Linked DNA regions of Homo sapiens: region 1 is linked to region 2. The links are contacts of gene promoters, found by promoter capture Hi-C in human tissues and cell types (Jung and others, 2019). All regions are on one chromosome and are shown on one strand. The core of a region is centred on a gene start or on the middle of the fragment in contact, and the rest is flanking DNA. Distances in the headings are between cores, read along the strand shown.

Region 1 (4,899 bases), core at 1,210-3,709, 950 kb before region 2:
AAGTTTTCTGTCTGGAATAGGCTGACCCTGGTATTATCCTGGGACCTCTTCTTTATGCCTGAAATAGCCAGAAAGACTGAAGGCTCAGTCCAGCTTGTGAAGACCAAAATGCTTACTATTTAGCCCTCTATATAAACACCTCTGCTTTAAATCAACACCCAAAGTTGAGATGTTTTTTAGTTCTTCACTTAAAAATATTTTTTACAATATTTGTAAAACCAATTAACTACCTTCACTATTTTCAATGCCCTTGTTTTCTTCTGGTAGTTCAGTGATGTATACATAATACATGTTAGTGATTCAATGTGTCTTTTATCTCTAGAATGATCTAGTTGATTTGGATATATTATATGCATGATTTCTTTTCTCACTGTATTACTCATAACAATCTTGTTCTGAATTCTCCATTCTGGAAAGGGACTATTTCTTTAATTTTCAGCCTGTTTCAGCCATTTTCGCATCAAATTTCAAAATTATTTCTAGTAAGTTTTAAGATTATTCCTTGTTTTCTGTAAATATTCTGTAAATAATCTGTGGTTATCATCAAAAACATCACTTACTTAGCTAAACATTGAACACATAATATTATTTCAGGCCTTCACACCTATTTCCTTGTCTTTGTTGAAACCTTTGACCTTGGCTGTTTATCAAGTCTTCCTTTGTCAGTTTAGTAATGGTGTGAGTGCTTTTTTGATATGCAAGCCTGCTCACTTTTATTAGTGTTTCCACTTGTTAAAAATGTATGCAGTCAGCTGGGCGCAGTGGTTCACGCCTGTAATCCCAGCACTTTGGGAGGCTGAGGTGTGCGGATCACAAGGTAAGGAGTTCAAGATCATCCTGGCTAACATGGTGAAACCCGGTCTCTACTAAAAATACAAAAAAAAAAAAATAGCTGGGCGTGGTGGCGGGCACCTGTAATCCCAGCTACTTGGGAGGCTAAGGCAGGAGAATCTCTTGAACCTGGGAAGTGAAGGTTGCAGTGAGCTGAGATCGCGCCACTGCACTCCAGCCTGGGTGACAAAGCGAGACTCCGCCTAAAAAAAAAAAAAAAAAAAAAAAAAAAAGCATGCAGTCCATTTCTCTGAAGATTTTCTTTCTTTTCTCTTTTCAATCTTTTTTATTTTCAGAGCTCCACTGCCATATTTTCTATTTTTATTATTTTGACTTATTCACATATTATCCAGGACCTAAAAAAATTCAATGCAACTGTATTCTGAATGAATACAATTTTAAAATGTACTAATCAAAAACATGAATTGCCATAAATGTAAAAATTAAAATATTAAAATTATGTTTTCAAAAAATTTTTTCTCTCAAGTAGTCACACATTTTATTTTATTTTTTTTTAGATGGAGTCTTGCTCTCTCACCCAGGCTGGAGTACAGTGGCGTGATCTTGGCTCACTGCAACCTCCACCTCCCGGGTTAAAGCGATTCTCCCAACTCAGTCTTCAAAGGAGCTGAGATTACAGGCATGCGCCACCATACCCAGCTAATTTTTGTATTTTTAGTAGACATGAGGTTTCACCATGTTGGCCAGGCTGGTCTCGAACTCCTGATCTCAAATGATCCACCCACTTGGGCCTCCCAAAGTGCTGGGATTATAGGTGTGAGTCACTGTGCCCAGCCACACATTTTAAATTAAAAGACAGACCTGGCAACGTGGCTCATATCTGTACTCCCAGCACTTTGGGAGGCCAAGGTGGGAGGATCACTTGAGTCCAGGAGTTCAAGACCAGCCTAGACAACATGGTGAGACCCTGCCTCTATTATTTAAAATAAAAAAAATCAAAAGATTTTTTAATGAAAATAAAAGACAAAATTTAAACAACAAAGTAAATCAAGCTTTTTTAAAAGCTGAAATTTTTATTTGATATTTTGAATTTAGATTAAATCTTAAACATTTTTATAAAAATAGCACTATTTAAATTCTACTGGTCATTTTCTATAGAGTTAACAATATAAAGAATCGACATTTCGCTTCAAACATGTTACCTCTAGCCTTTACATACACACATTTAAGAGGAATACGTATTGTTTAATATCACAAAGCACCCTTCAGCCACCATGCGTACCTGTTGTGAATATCAAAGAACTGAAACCATGAATTAGAACACAAAGAGAAGCAAGAGAAAGGACTCAGTACTATTGAGAAGCAACACTTTGTTGAGCTTTGATGCTGGAAGAAAGTATTTGACAAGTGAATTAATCTGTCTTCCCTCCGCCCTAGGCACTTCTAATATTTAAATCCTTTCCACGTTTCTGAGCAGAAGAGCCTCTAAACTTTCAAGCCGCTCTGGGAGCCTCTAAACTTTCAAGCCACTCTGTCACAGCCACCTTCTGTTTGGAAGACACAGGGTGAAAGATAAGAAAGGCAATTTCAGGCCAGGCTTTGTGGCCCATGCCTGTAATCCCGGCACTTTGGGAGGCCAAGGCAGTCGGATCTCTTAAGACCAGGAGTTCAATACCAGCTTGGCCAACATGATGAAACCCCATTTCTACTAAAAATACAAAAAGTAGCCGGGTGTGGTAGCACGCGCCTGTAGTCCCAGCTACTTGTGGGGCTGAGGCAGGAGGATCGATTGAGCCCAGGAAGTCGAGGCTGCAGGGAATCGTGATTGTGCCACTGCACTCCAGCCGGGGTAACAGAGTGAGACCCTTTCTCTCAAAAAAGGGGGGTGGGGACGAAAAGGCAATTTCTCTGAGGCCTGAACAGTGTTCCTGAGGACAGCATCTGTTTAGGGTTACAGGTGACCCTGTGCCAGCTCTAGGGGCCACATCTCAGTGACAGAAGCGCTAGGCATTCTTTCACACATTGTGCCCCCTGGGGATATGCAGGTCCCATAAGAGGGACACGGTGCCCCTCTTGTCCAGGTTTAAGGGTGGCACTGTGAGGGCCCATTTCTCTGGGATGAGCCTGCCTAGGGCTGGGCTCAGGAGGCAGGAAGACTAGAATGGAATGTGAGAGCTTCCCACGCTCAGAAAGGTGACTGGTGTCTCCAGCTTCTGAGCAGTCCCAGCGATGCGGCAGGGCCTCAGGGGAATAACCGCTTGAACTCAGCAGGGGAGGCGGGCCCAGCCTGTGCAGTGACCTCCACGCCCTGGCTCAACAGGAGGGCATTGAGGACCAGGGGGGTGAGGACGAGGGGTCTGTAAACCAGCCAGTGGCAACCAGAAACCAGAGGCCTCTCCTGCCCGCACCCCGGGACCTTGATAGGACCCCGATAGGACCCCGAGAGGGAAGAAGAGAGCCTCTGTCATGAAAAGAATTGTATTCCAGCCTCGCCAGATTAGATTTGACTTGAAGCAGGAAGAAAGAAATGTGACATTTCTCACCTCATTTTGTTCAAAAAAATCAGAATCCACCACGGAAGTAAATTTGTTTGAGTCGTGGCACGTTTCTCCAGCTCTTCTCTCCTCCACCCCTGGAAGCGAGGGGAGCCCACGGTCTGGGGAAGGGCGGACGTCGGGGCCTTCCCTACCGGACAGCACTGCCGCTTCTGCCATCTGCCTTCCTCCTTCTGCGGACTGTCCCTGCCGGAGGCCCCCAGCGGCCTGGCCTCGCATCAGATCGCCTGAGGGCCTCTCAGGTGTTGGTGGAGGGAGGTCATCTGGGTGGGAGAAGTTTTGCCATCAGCCTGAGGAGAGGACAGTGGGGATTCTGGGCAGAAAACAATGCGAACCATCAACAGAATATACATATATATATATATATATATATATATATATATATATATATATATATAGTTTTTTTTTTTTTTTTTTTTGAGACGGAGTCTCACTTTGTCATCCAGGCTAGAGTGCAGTGGCGCAATCTTGGCTCACTGCAACCTCCACCTTCTGGGTTCAAACAATTCTCCTGCCTCAACCTCCCGGGTAGCTAGGATTACAGGCGCCCACCACCACGCCAGGCTAATTTTTGTATTTTAGTAGAGAGAGAGTTTCGCCATGTTGGCCAGGCTGGTCTTGAACTCCTGACCTCAAGTGATTCACCCGCCTCGGCCTCCAAAGTGCTGGGATTACAGGCATGAGGCACCGCGCCCAGCAACAGAAGTTCTTTTTCCTCCATCTGGCCTTCCAGGTTCAAGCAAAGCCAGTGTCATTTGCCCAGGCCTCTCAGGATTCCTTTTGCTTCCAGAGACTCCCTCTTTACTCCCCACGCCGGGTACCCAGAAAAGTCCTTGAAAGAAATTGTTCTCCTCCTCCCCAGGGGTGGGGGGTACCACTTGGCCAGTGAATGGTTACTCCCAACCTTACCCATGAGCTCAGACACTGACAAGGCTGCAGGTCCTGCTCAAATCAAAATAGGAGCTATCAAATCCCGGGAGGGCCCCTGGCTCTGAGCCCAGTCTTCTTGCCTTCAGGATTTCTCCTGGCACAGAATCAGGAGGGAAACGCGCTCTTTCACTTGAACGCAAGTGAGGACTCGGACAGCAGAGGGAGCCAGCAGCCCGCGGTTGGCGCTGAGGCCCGGCTTCTGAAATCCCATCTGTTCCCAGAGCTTGTTGGCGCCCCCCGTGCAAGTTGGGGCACACAGAAAATACAAGTTTTCTTAAATGAATGCCTCCCAAGGGATCAGAAACAGGGCCCGCTGGGGTTTTCTTACAAATTCGTAACCTGCGTGGCTCTCCCGTGCCAATTAAATAATCAGGAGGAAATACCGCGTTTGTCTATTAAAGCCTGGTGTTGCTTCTCAGAGACTCACGGTGTAATATCAGAGGGAATTTACCTTCCATTGGGATTCTTTTGCCATTAACAATTCTTCCTCTCCGTGGGAACTTGCATGTCGCCTCTTCCCCTCGGCCCTCAGAACGCTTACTCTGTGGGCACACAGGAAAAGGTATGGGGGTCTCTGTGCTGAGCGCCCCAAGTTCCTCGTCTATAGGCAGACATTTTGATA
Region 2 (5,212 bases), core at 464-2,963:
AGGACACAGGATATCTTCCAGTTCACTCCCCTCACTTTAAGAGTACAGTGTTAGGACACCTGCCTGAAGTCATGCAGCTGCCTAGTTATCTTTCCAAATTGCCCCGCTGTCTTTAGTTTGTGTAATAATAAACCCCAAACTAAAATTCAACAAAAGCACTCACCCTTGCTAAATAAATCATGTCTATTCCTACCACTGAAGGGGAAAAGGTAACAAAGTTTGGTAGAAGTTGGGCTAGATCCTTCAGCACTGGCTTATTTAGAAATTTCAGAGGACTAGGTGAGGTGGCTAAGGCCTGTAATCCTAGCACTTTGGGAGGCCGAGGCAGGTGGATGACTTCAGCCCAGAGTTCAAGACGAGCCTGTACTTCCAGCTACTCGGGAGGGTGAGGTGGGAGGATGGCTTGAGCCTAGGATGTTGAGGCTGCAGTGAGCCGAGATTGCGCCACTGCACTCTGGCCTGGACAACAAACTGAGACCCTGGAAGAAAAGAAAAGAAAAGAAAGGAAAAGAAAAGAAAAGAAAAGAAAAGAGAAAAAAAGATCAGAGAACCTTTCTTACTGGAAGTCAACGTTGCCACGACAGGATTAAAGCAAGAAGAAACATTATGGGCCTCCTATCTCGTCCTTAATGTTCAAAACGCAGGGTATAGCAAAGCATATAGGAAGAGGTCGTCCTCACTCGTGAACTCAGCATCGGGTTCTACGTTTATTCTGCTTTGGTTCTTCTTAATCTGACCTCTATAGACTTCGCCACGATCCAAGGTGTAATTCCAACAGGCAAAAGAAGTCTAAGGATTGTCGAAAAGGTGGCTCCCTTCAGACAGACCAAGCCCAATTCATGGCAGCGTTCCCAGCCCCAGTTTGAAGCTCAGTAAGGTGGTCTCTTGCCTTTCTGAATTCTGAAAAAAGAGTGGTATTGGAATCTCTTCTTACCGGAACCCAGGAGAGGGCGAGCTGTGGTGCAGTCCTCATAAAGGGGAGAACTGTAGTTTTCAGAGTTCTAATGAACATCCCAATGGGCCTAAAAGGCTTCAATAAGAGATGAAAGGTTCCGGGTGAGAGTGGGCGTGGGCGAAGCTGATCCCTCTAGGTCGGACTAAGGCAGAGCCAGATCCAAGAGGGAGAATCCAACTGTAAAAGGGATCTGGGGAAGAAAGAGCTCTGTTGGGGGTGCAGCCGGATGAAGAACACCGGTGCTGCTCAGTGCAGCCCCTACCCATCCATGGCAAACAAAGGCAGCTGCCTCCCTTCCAGCCTTTTAGTTTGAATGAAGGCTCAGTATTACCTTTTAGGATCCACCCTTCCCTTCTCACGCACCCAATGAGGCCGGAGCCTCTTCCTGCCGGGAGGTGCTGAACTCTCCCAGGAAACGGACAGGTGCCGCGAGCCAATGGAGGGAGCTGCGGCGGGCCAGTGGGCGGGAAGAGTGGGTCGACCTGGGTTTGAGAATGACAGAGCCCGCAATGGGGGAGGGCACGGTGCGACGGCGGCGCAGGGGGTGAGAGGGACCTGCGAGACGGCCAGCTAGGCTGCCCCAACCACGGCGGAGGAACCGGGGACTGGGCGGCCGCAGCCAATGGGAAGGCAGCGGGCGCGGGGCGGGGCGGGCGTGGGGCGGAGCCCCCTGGGGTCCGCAGGGCTGGGGCGGAGCCAGGCCCGCGTCAGGTGGTCCCGGCGAGCTGGCGGTGCGGGGGGCGGGGCACGGCACGGCGCGGAGAGGAGAGCGGCGGCCGGCTGGCAGCGGCGGGCACCGGCTGCGCGAGCAGGTACCGGCGGCAGAGGTGACGAGGCCGCCCCCGGGGGGGCGAGCGGGCAGGCGGGGACTCGGCCCGCTGCGCCCCTAGGCTGCGCGAAGAGCTCGCGCTCGGCGCTCTTCTCGTACCGCGGTAACAGCGCCGGCGAGCCGGCTCTCCCAGCCCTGCCAGCCCGGGCCCTACCTGCGGCCGCCGTCGTTGGGGGGGGGTCCTCCCAGCTCTGCGGAGGCGCATGAACAATAGGCGGCGGCGGCTCCTGCGGGCGGCGGCGGCCCCGCACCCTATGGATCGGCCGCTCCATGGAGCCCTCCAGAGCGCTTCTCGGCTGCCTAGCGAGCGCCGCCGCTGCCGCCCCGCCGGGGGAGGATGGAGCAGGGGCCGGGGCCGAGGAGGAGGAGGAGGAGGAGGAGGAGGCGGCGGCGGCGGTGGGCCCCGGGGAGCTGGGCTGCGACGCGCCGCTGCCCTACTGGACGGCCGTGTTCGAGTACGAGGCGGCGGGCGAGGACGAGCTGACCCTGCGGCTGGGCGACGTGGTGGAGGTGCTGTCCAAGGACTCGCAGGTGTCCGGCGACGAGGGCTGGTGGACCGGGCAGCTGAACCAGCGGGTGGGCATCTTCCCCAGCAACTACGTGACCCCGCGCAGCGCCTTCTCCAGCCGCTGCCAGCCCGGCGGCGAGGACCCCAGTTGCTACCCGCCCATTCAGTGTAAGGCGAAGGCGGGGCCGGGCGGGGAGGGGGAATGACGGAGGCCTGGGGGGCGGTCGGGGAAGGGGGGAGCACTGCGCGAGGGCTGGGATGAGGGCGGGGGGTGGGGAGGACGATTGACCTGGGTGTGGGTGGCGCGCGCTTAGGCTGCCCGGGCTTTGCTTGCTGGATAAGCTCGAGACGCCTCAGGCCCTGCCCGCACTTCAGACGCTTGGGCTTCTTCACCTTCAGTTGGCCACCTCAGCAGTGGCTCCCGATTTCCACATCCTGAAGTCCCAGTCTGAGAATTTGCCAGTTTCCCAGTCCCTTCTCTTACCCACCCCCCCGCCGCCCCCCATTCCCAATCTGGAAGTGTTTATGGCAAGATGGTGGTTAGTGTCCTAGCCTTAGTCCCCAAATCAGGGACCTTGCCACCACCTCTTCTAACGCCTGTCCCCGCCTCCTAAAGGCATTTGCTTTCAAAGAGATGGGGGTGTCTCCGCAGGGCTGAGCTGGCTCACAAGTCCCGGAAGCATGTGTGAACTCAAGGCTCAGTTGCCTGTAAAATGTCGGGTTGATTTCTTGGATCCTATTTCTTATATCTCAGAAGTTGTACCTTTAGGAGTCTCACTGATTAATGTGCTAAGAGGGATGTGTGTGTTGAGAGTGGGGGTGAGACAAGTGATGATTAGAGAGGAAAAAGTATGTCGTTCCCCCATGGGAGATCAGGATTGCAAGGTACAGTGGCTGAATCCCAGTCCTTTGACAGTGAGGCTGTTTGGGAAATACATTTTCTTCTTTCTTCTCATTCTAGATCCTTGCCTATCTTTGGAACTGGTCAAATCTCAGGGGGACCATGCTCAGGGGTCCCTCCCAGGGCCTTTCTCCCAGTGTCCTGGTTTCCGTCAATTTTCCAGGAGCCCCATATTTCATACCCTATAATGAAATCTTCTTTTTTTTTCAAGGGAGTTAAATTGCCATCACAATCCCTTAATCATACTAGTTTATTTCAGAAAAAAACATGTAAATATCTCTTTAGTGCAGTTTACACTATTTTGTATTTGAGAGTTTCCATAATCTCTTATCTGTTAAAAAGGTATTGTTAATATGTATTAATTACTGTTTATTCCTTATTTTGTATACTTTCATCTTAGTTGATTTTTTAAAACGTCATTAGCAAGGACCAACTTTAAATATTTAAATATTAAGATTTCCTTTGTAACAGTTACGTTTTTGGCTCTGTAAGTTATTTTTTACCCCAGCAATTGTGTTACTTTAATCTTGAGTTTTTTTGTTTTTTTGAGACAGTCTCGTTGTCTCCCAGGTTGGAGTTCAGTGGTGCAATCTCAGCTCACTGCAACCTCTGCCTCCCGGGTTCAAGCAATTCTCCTGCCTCAGCCTCCTGAGTAGCTGGGATTACAGGCGCCCGCCACCATGCCTGGCTAATTTTTGCATTTTTAGTAGAGATGAGGTTCACCATATTGGCCAAACTGGTCTCGAACTCCTGACCTCAAGTGATCCGCACGCCTCGGCCTTCCAAAGTGTTGGATTACAGGCGTGAGCCACCGTGTCTGGCCTATCTTTAGATGTTTTTTAAAAACTAGCACATAATATCAAAATCATAGCCTCTTCGCTTGTTTTTCTGCTCTTCTTTTTCTGTTGGTGTTTTGACTATCAAATCGATGTTCAAATCTTTAGGTTCCCCCTCTCCCTCTCATTCAGTTTAAAACTTCATTTTTCTTCATTTTGATCTTTAAAATGCCTGGAGGTAGCAAATTACTTTAAATTGTTTCCAGATACTACATCTTTTTGGGACTAGTTTGGTAGCCTTAAGGCTAAGCATCCTGGCATAGTGTTTTGAAAGTGTTGAAAATGAACTTGGTCATATATTGGAAGAAATATGAATAGCCTGGCATGTTAGAAAACAGTGTCATTTTAAACATAAGTCAGATTTTGATTCTGTGGGTGAAGTTTTGTGATTTTGTTTTCAGGGACAGCTAATGTCAAAGCAGAAGAGCTAGGTGAGGTTCGTGATCAGGAACTCGGTTTCTTCAATATCTTGTGCTCTGGCTGCTAGAGCAGTCAAGAGTCAGTATGACTTAGGCTGAAAAACTGTCCACAGAGCTAGGCATGGCAACAGCGTGCTACTTTTTCATTTGGTGGCCAGGACTTATCTTCATTGTCATACAAGTTATCTTGGATAGAGTGGATTCCTAAATCTGGAACCCAGATGTTGAGAAAGTAGGAAGTAACTTGTTCTAATGGAAAGAATTAACTTGAAGAATATGGCATTTGAAAGACCTGACACGTTCTTTTATTTGGCCTCACTAGGAGTTCTGATCTTGACTAGAATTAATTTTTGATAATTCAGAAAATTTAGTTTCAGTCAAAAACTAATTATTGAGTACCTAGTGAGTGATAGATACTGTACACTGTGTTAAGTACCAGGACATAAAGAAGTGATAAGATCAGAAGTTGCTTATAAGTTACATGAGGGAGATTAAGTATGTAAATATAAAACTTCAGTGCAGTGCCTTGGTTCATCAGAGGGTGAACATGGGCGGTCATTGAAGTCTATGTGCTCTACCAGATCAGTTTGTGTCACTCGGAAAGTGAAGACGATTGACAAACCTTGTCTCCGAAGACTTGGAATGAAATTGAGCCACTGACACTTCATCGCCAGAGTTACCCTTTTGAACTTCTCCTCTGAGCATGTGTTGTGACGTTGCATTCTGGACCATGAATAGAAGACATTAAGTCAAGCAATACTGTT

Evidence for each region. The method cuts DNA at HindIII sites, captures the fragments that hold promoters and counts their contacts. A contact is called where the count stands out against the background at its distance.
Region 1: a contact is called between a fragment that was not itself captured here and the fragment with the promoter of MAP3K9 in region 2, in 1 of the 25 tissues and cell types used here (lymphoblastoid cells).

Annotation. Positions count from the first base shown.
Region 1 is chr14:71,752,786-71,757,684 of GRCh38, reverse strand. No RefSeq gene overlaps it. Among named protein-coding and RNA genes, the nearest start is that of RGS6, 180 kb to the left of the region's middle. RefSeq lists an enhancer at 2,776-3,690. The HindIII fragment of the contact is 7,023 bases long and covers 1-4,899 here.
Region 2 is chr14:70,806,014-70,811,225 of GRCh38, reverse strand. It overlaps MAP3K9 (mitogen-activated protein kinase kinase kinase 9), which reads left to right and starts at 1,713. Exons shown (of 12, transcript NM_001284230.2): 1 at 1,713-2,460. The coding sequence starts at 2,055. It overlaps MAP3K9-DT (MAP3K9 divergent transcript), which reads right to left and starts at 2,442. Exons shown (of 2, transcript NR_184164.1): 1 at 1,939-2,442. RefSeq lists a silencer at 1,512-2,151 and an enhancer at 3,092-3,151. The HindIII fragment of the contact is 18,119 bases long and covers 1-5,212 here.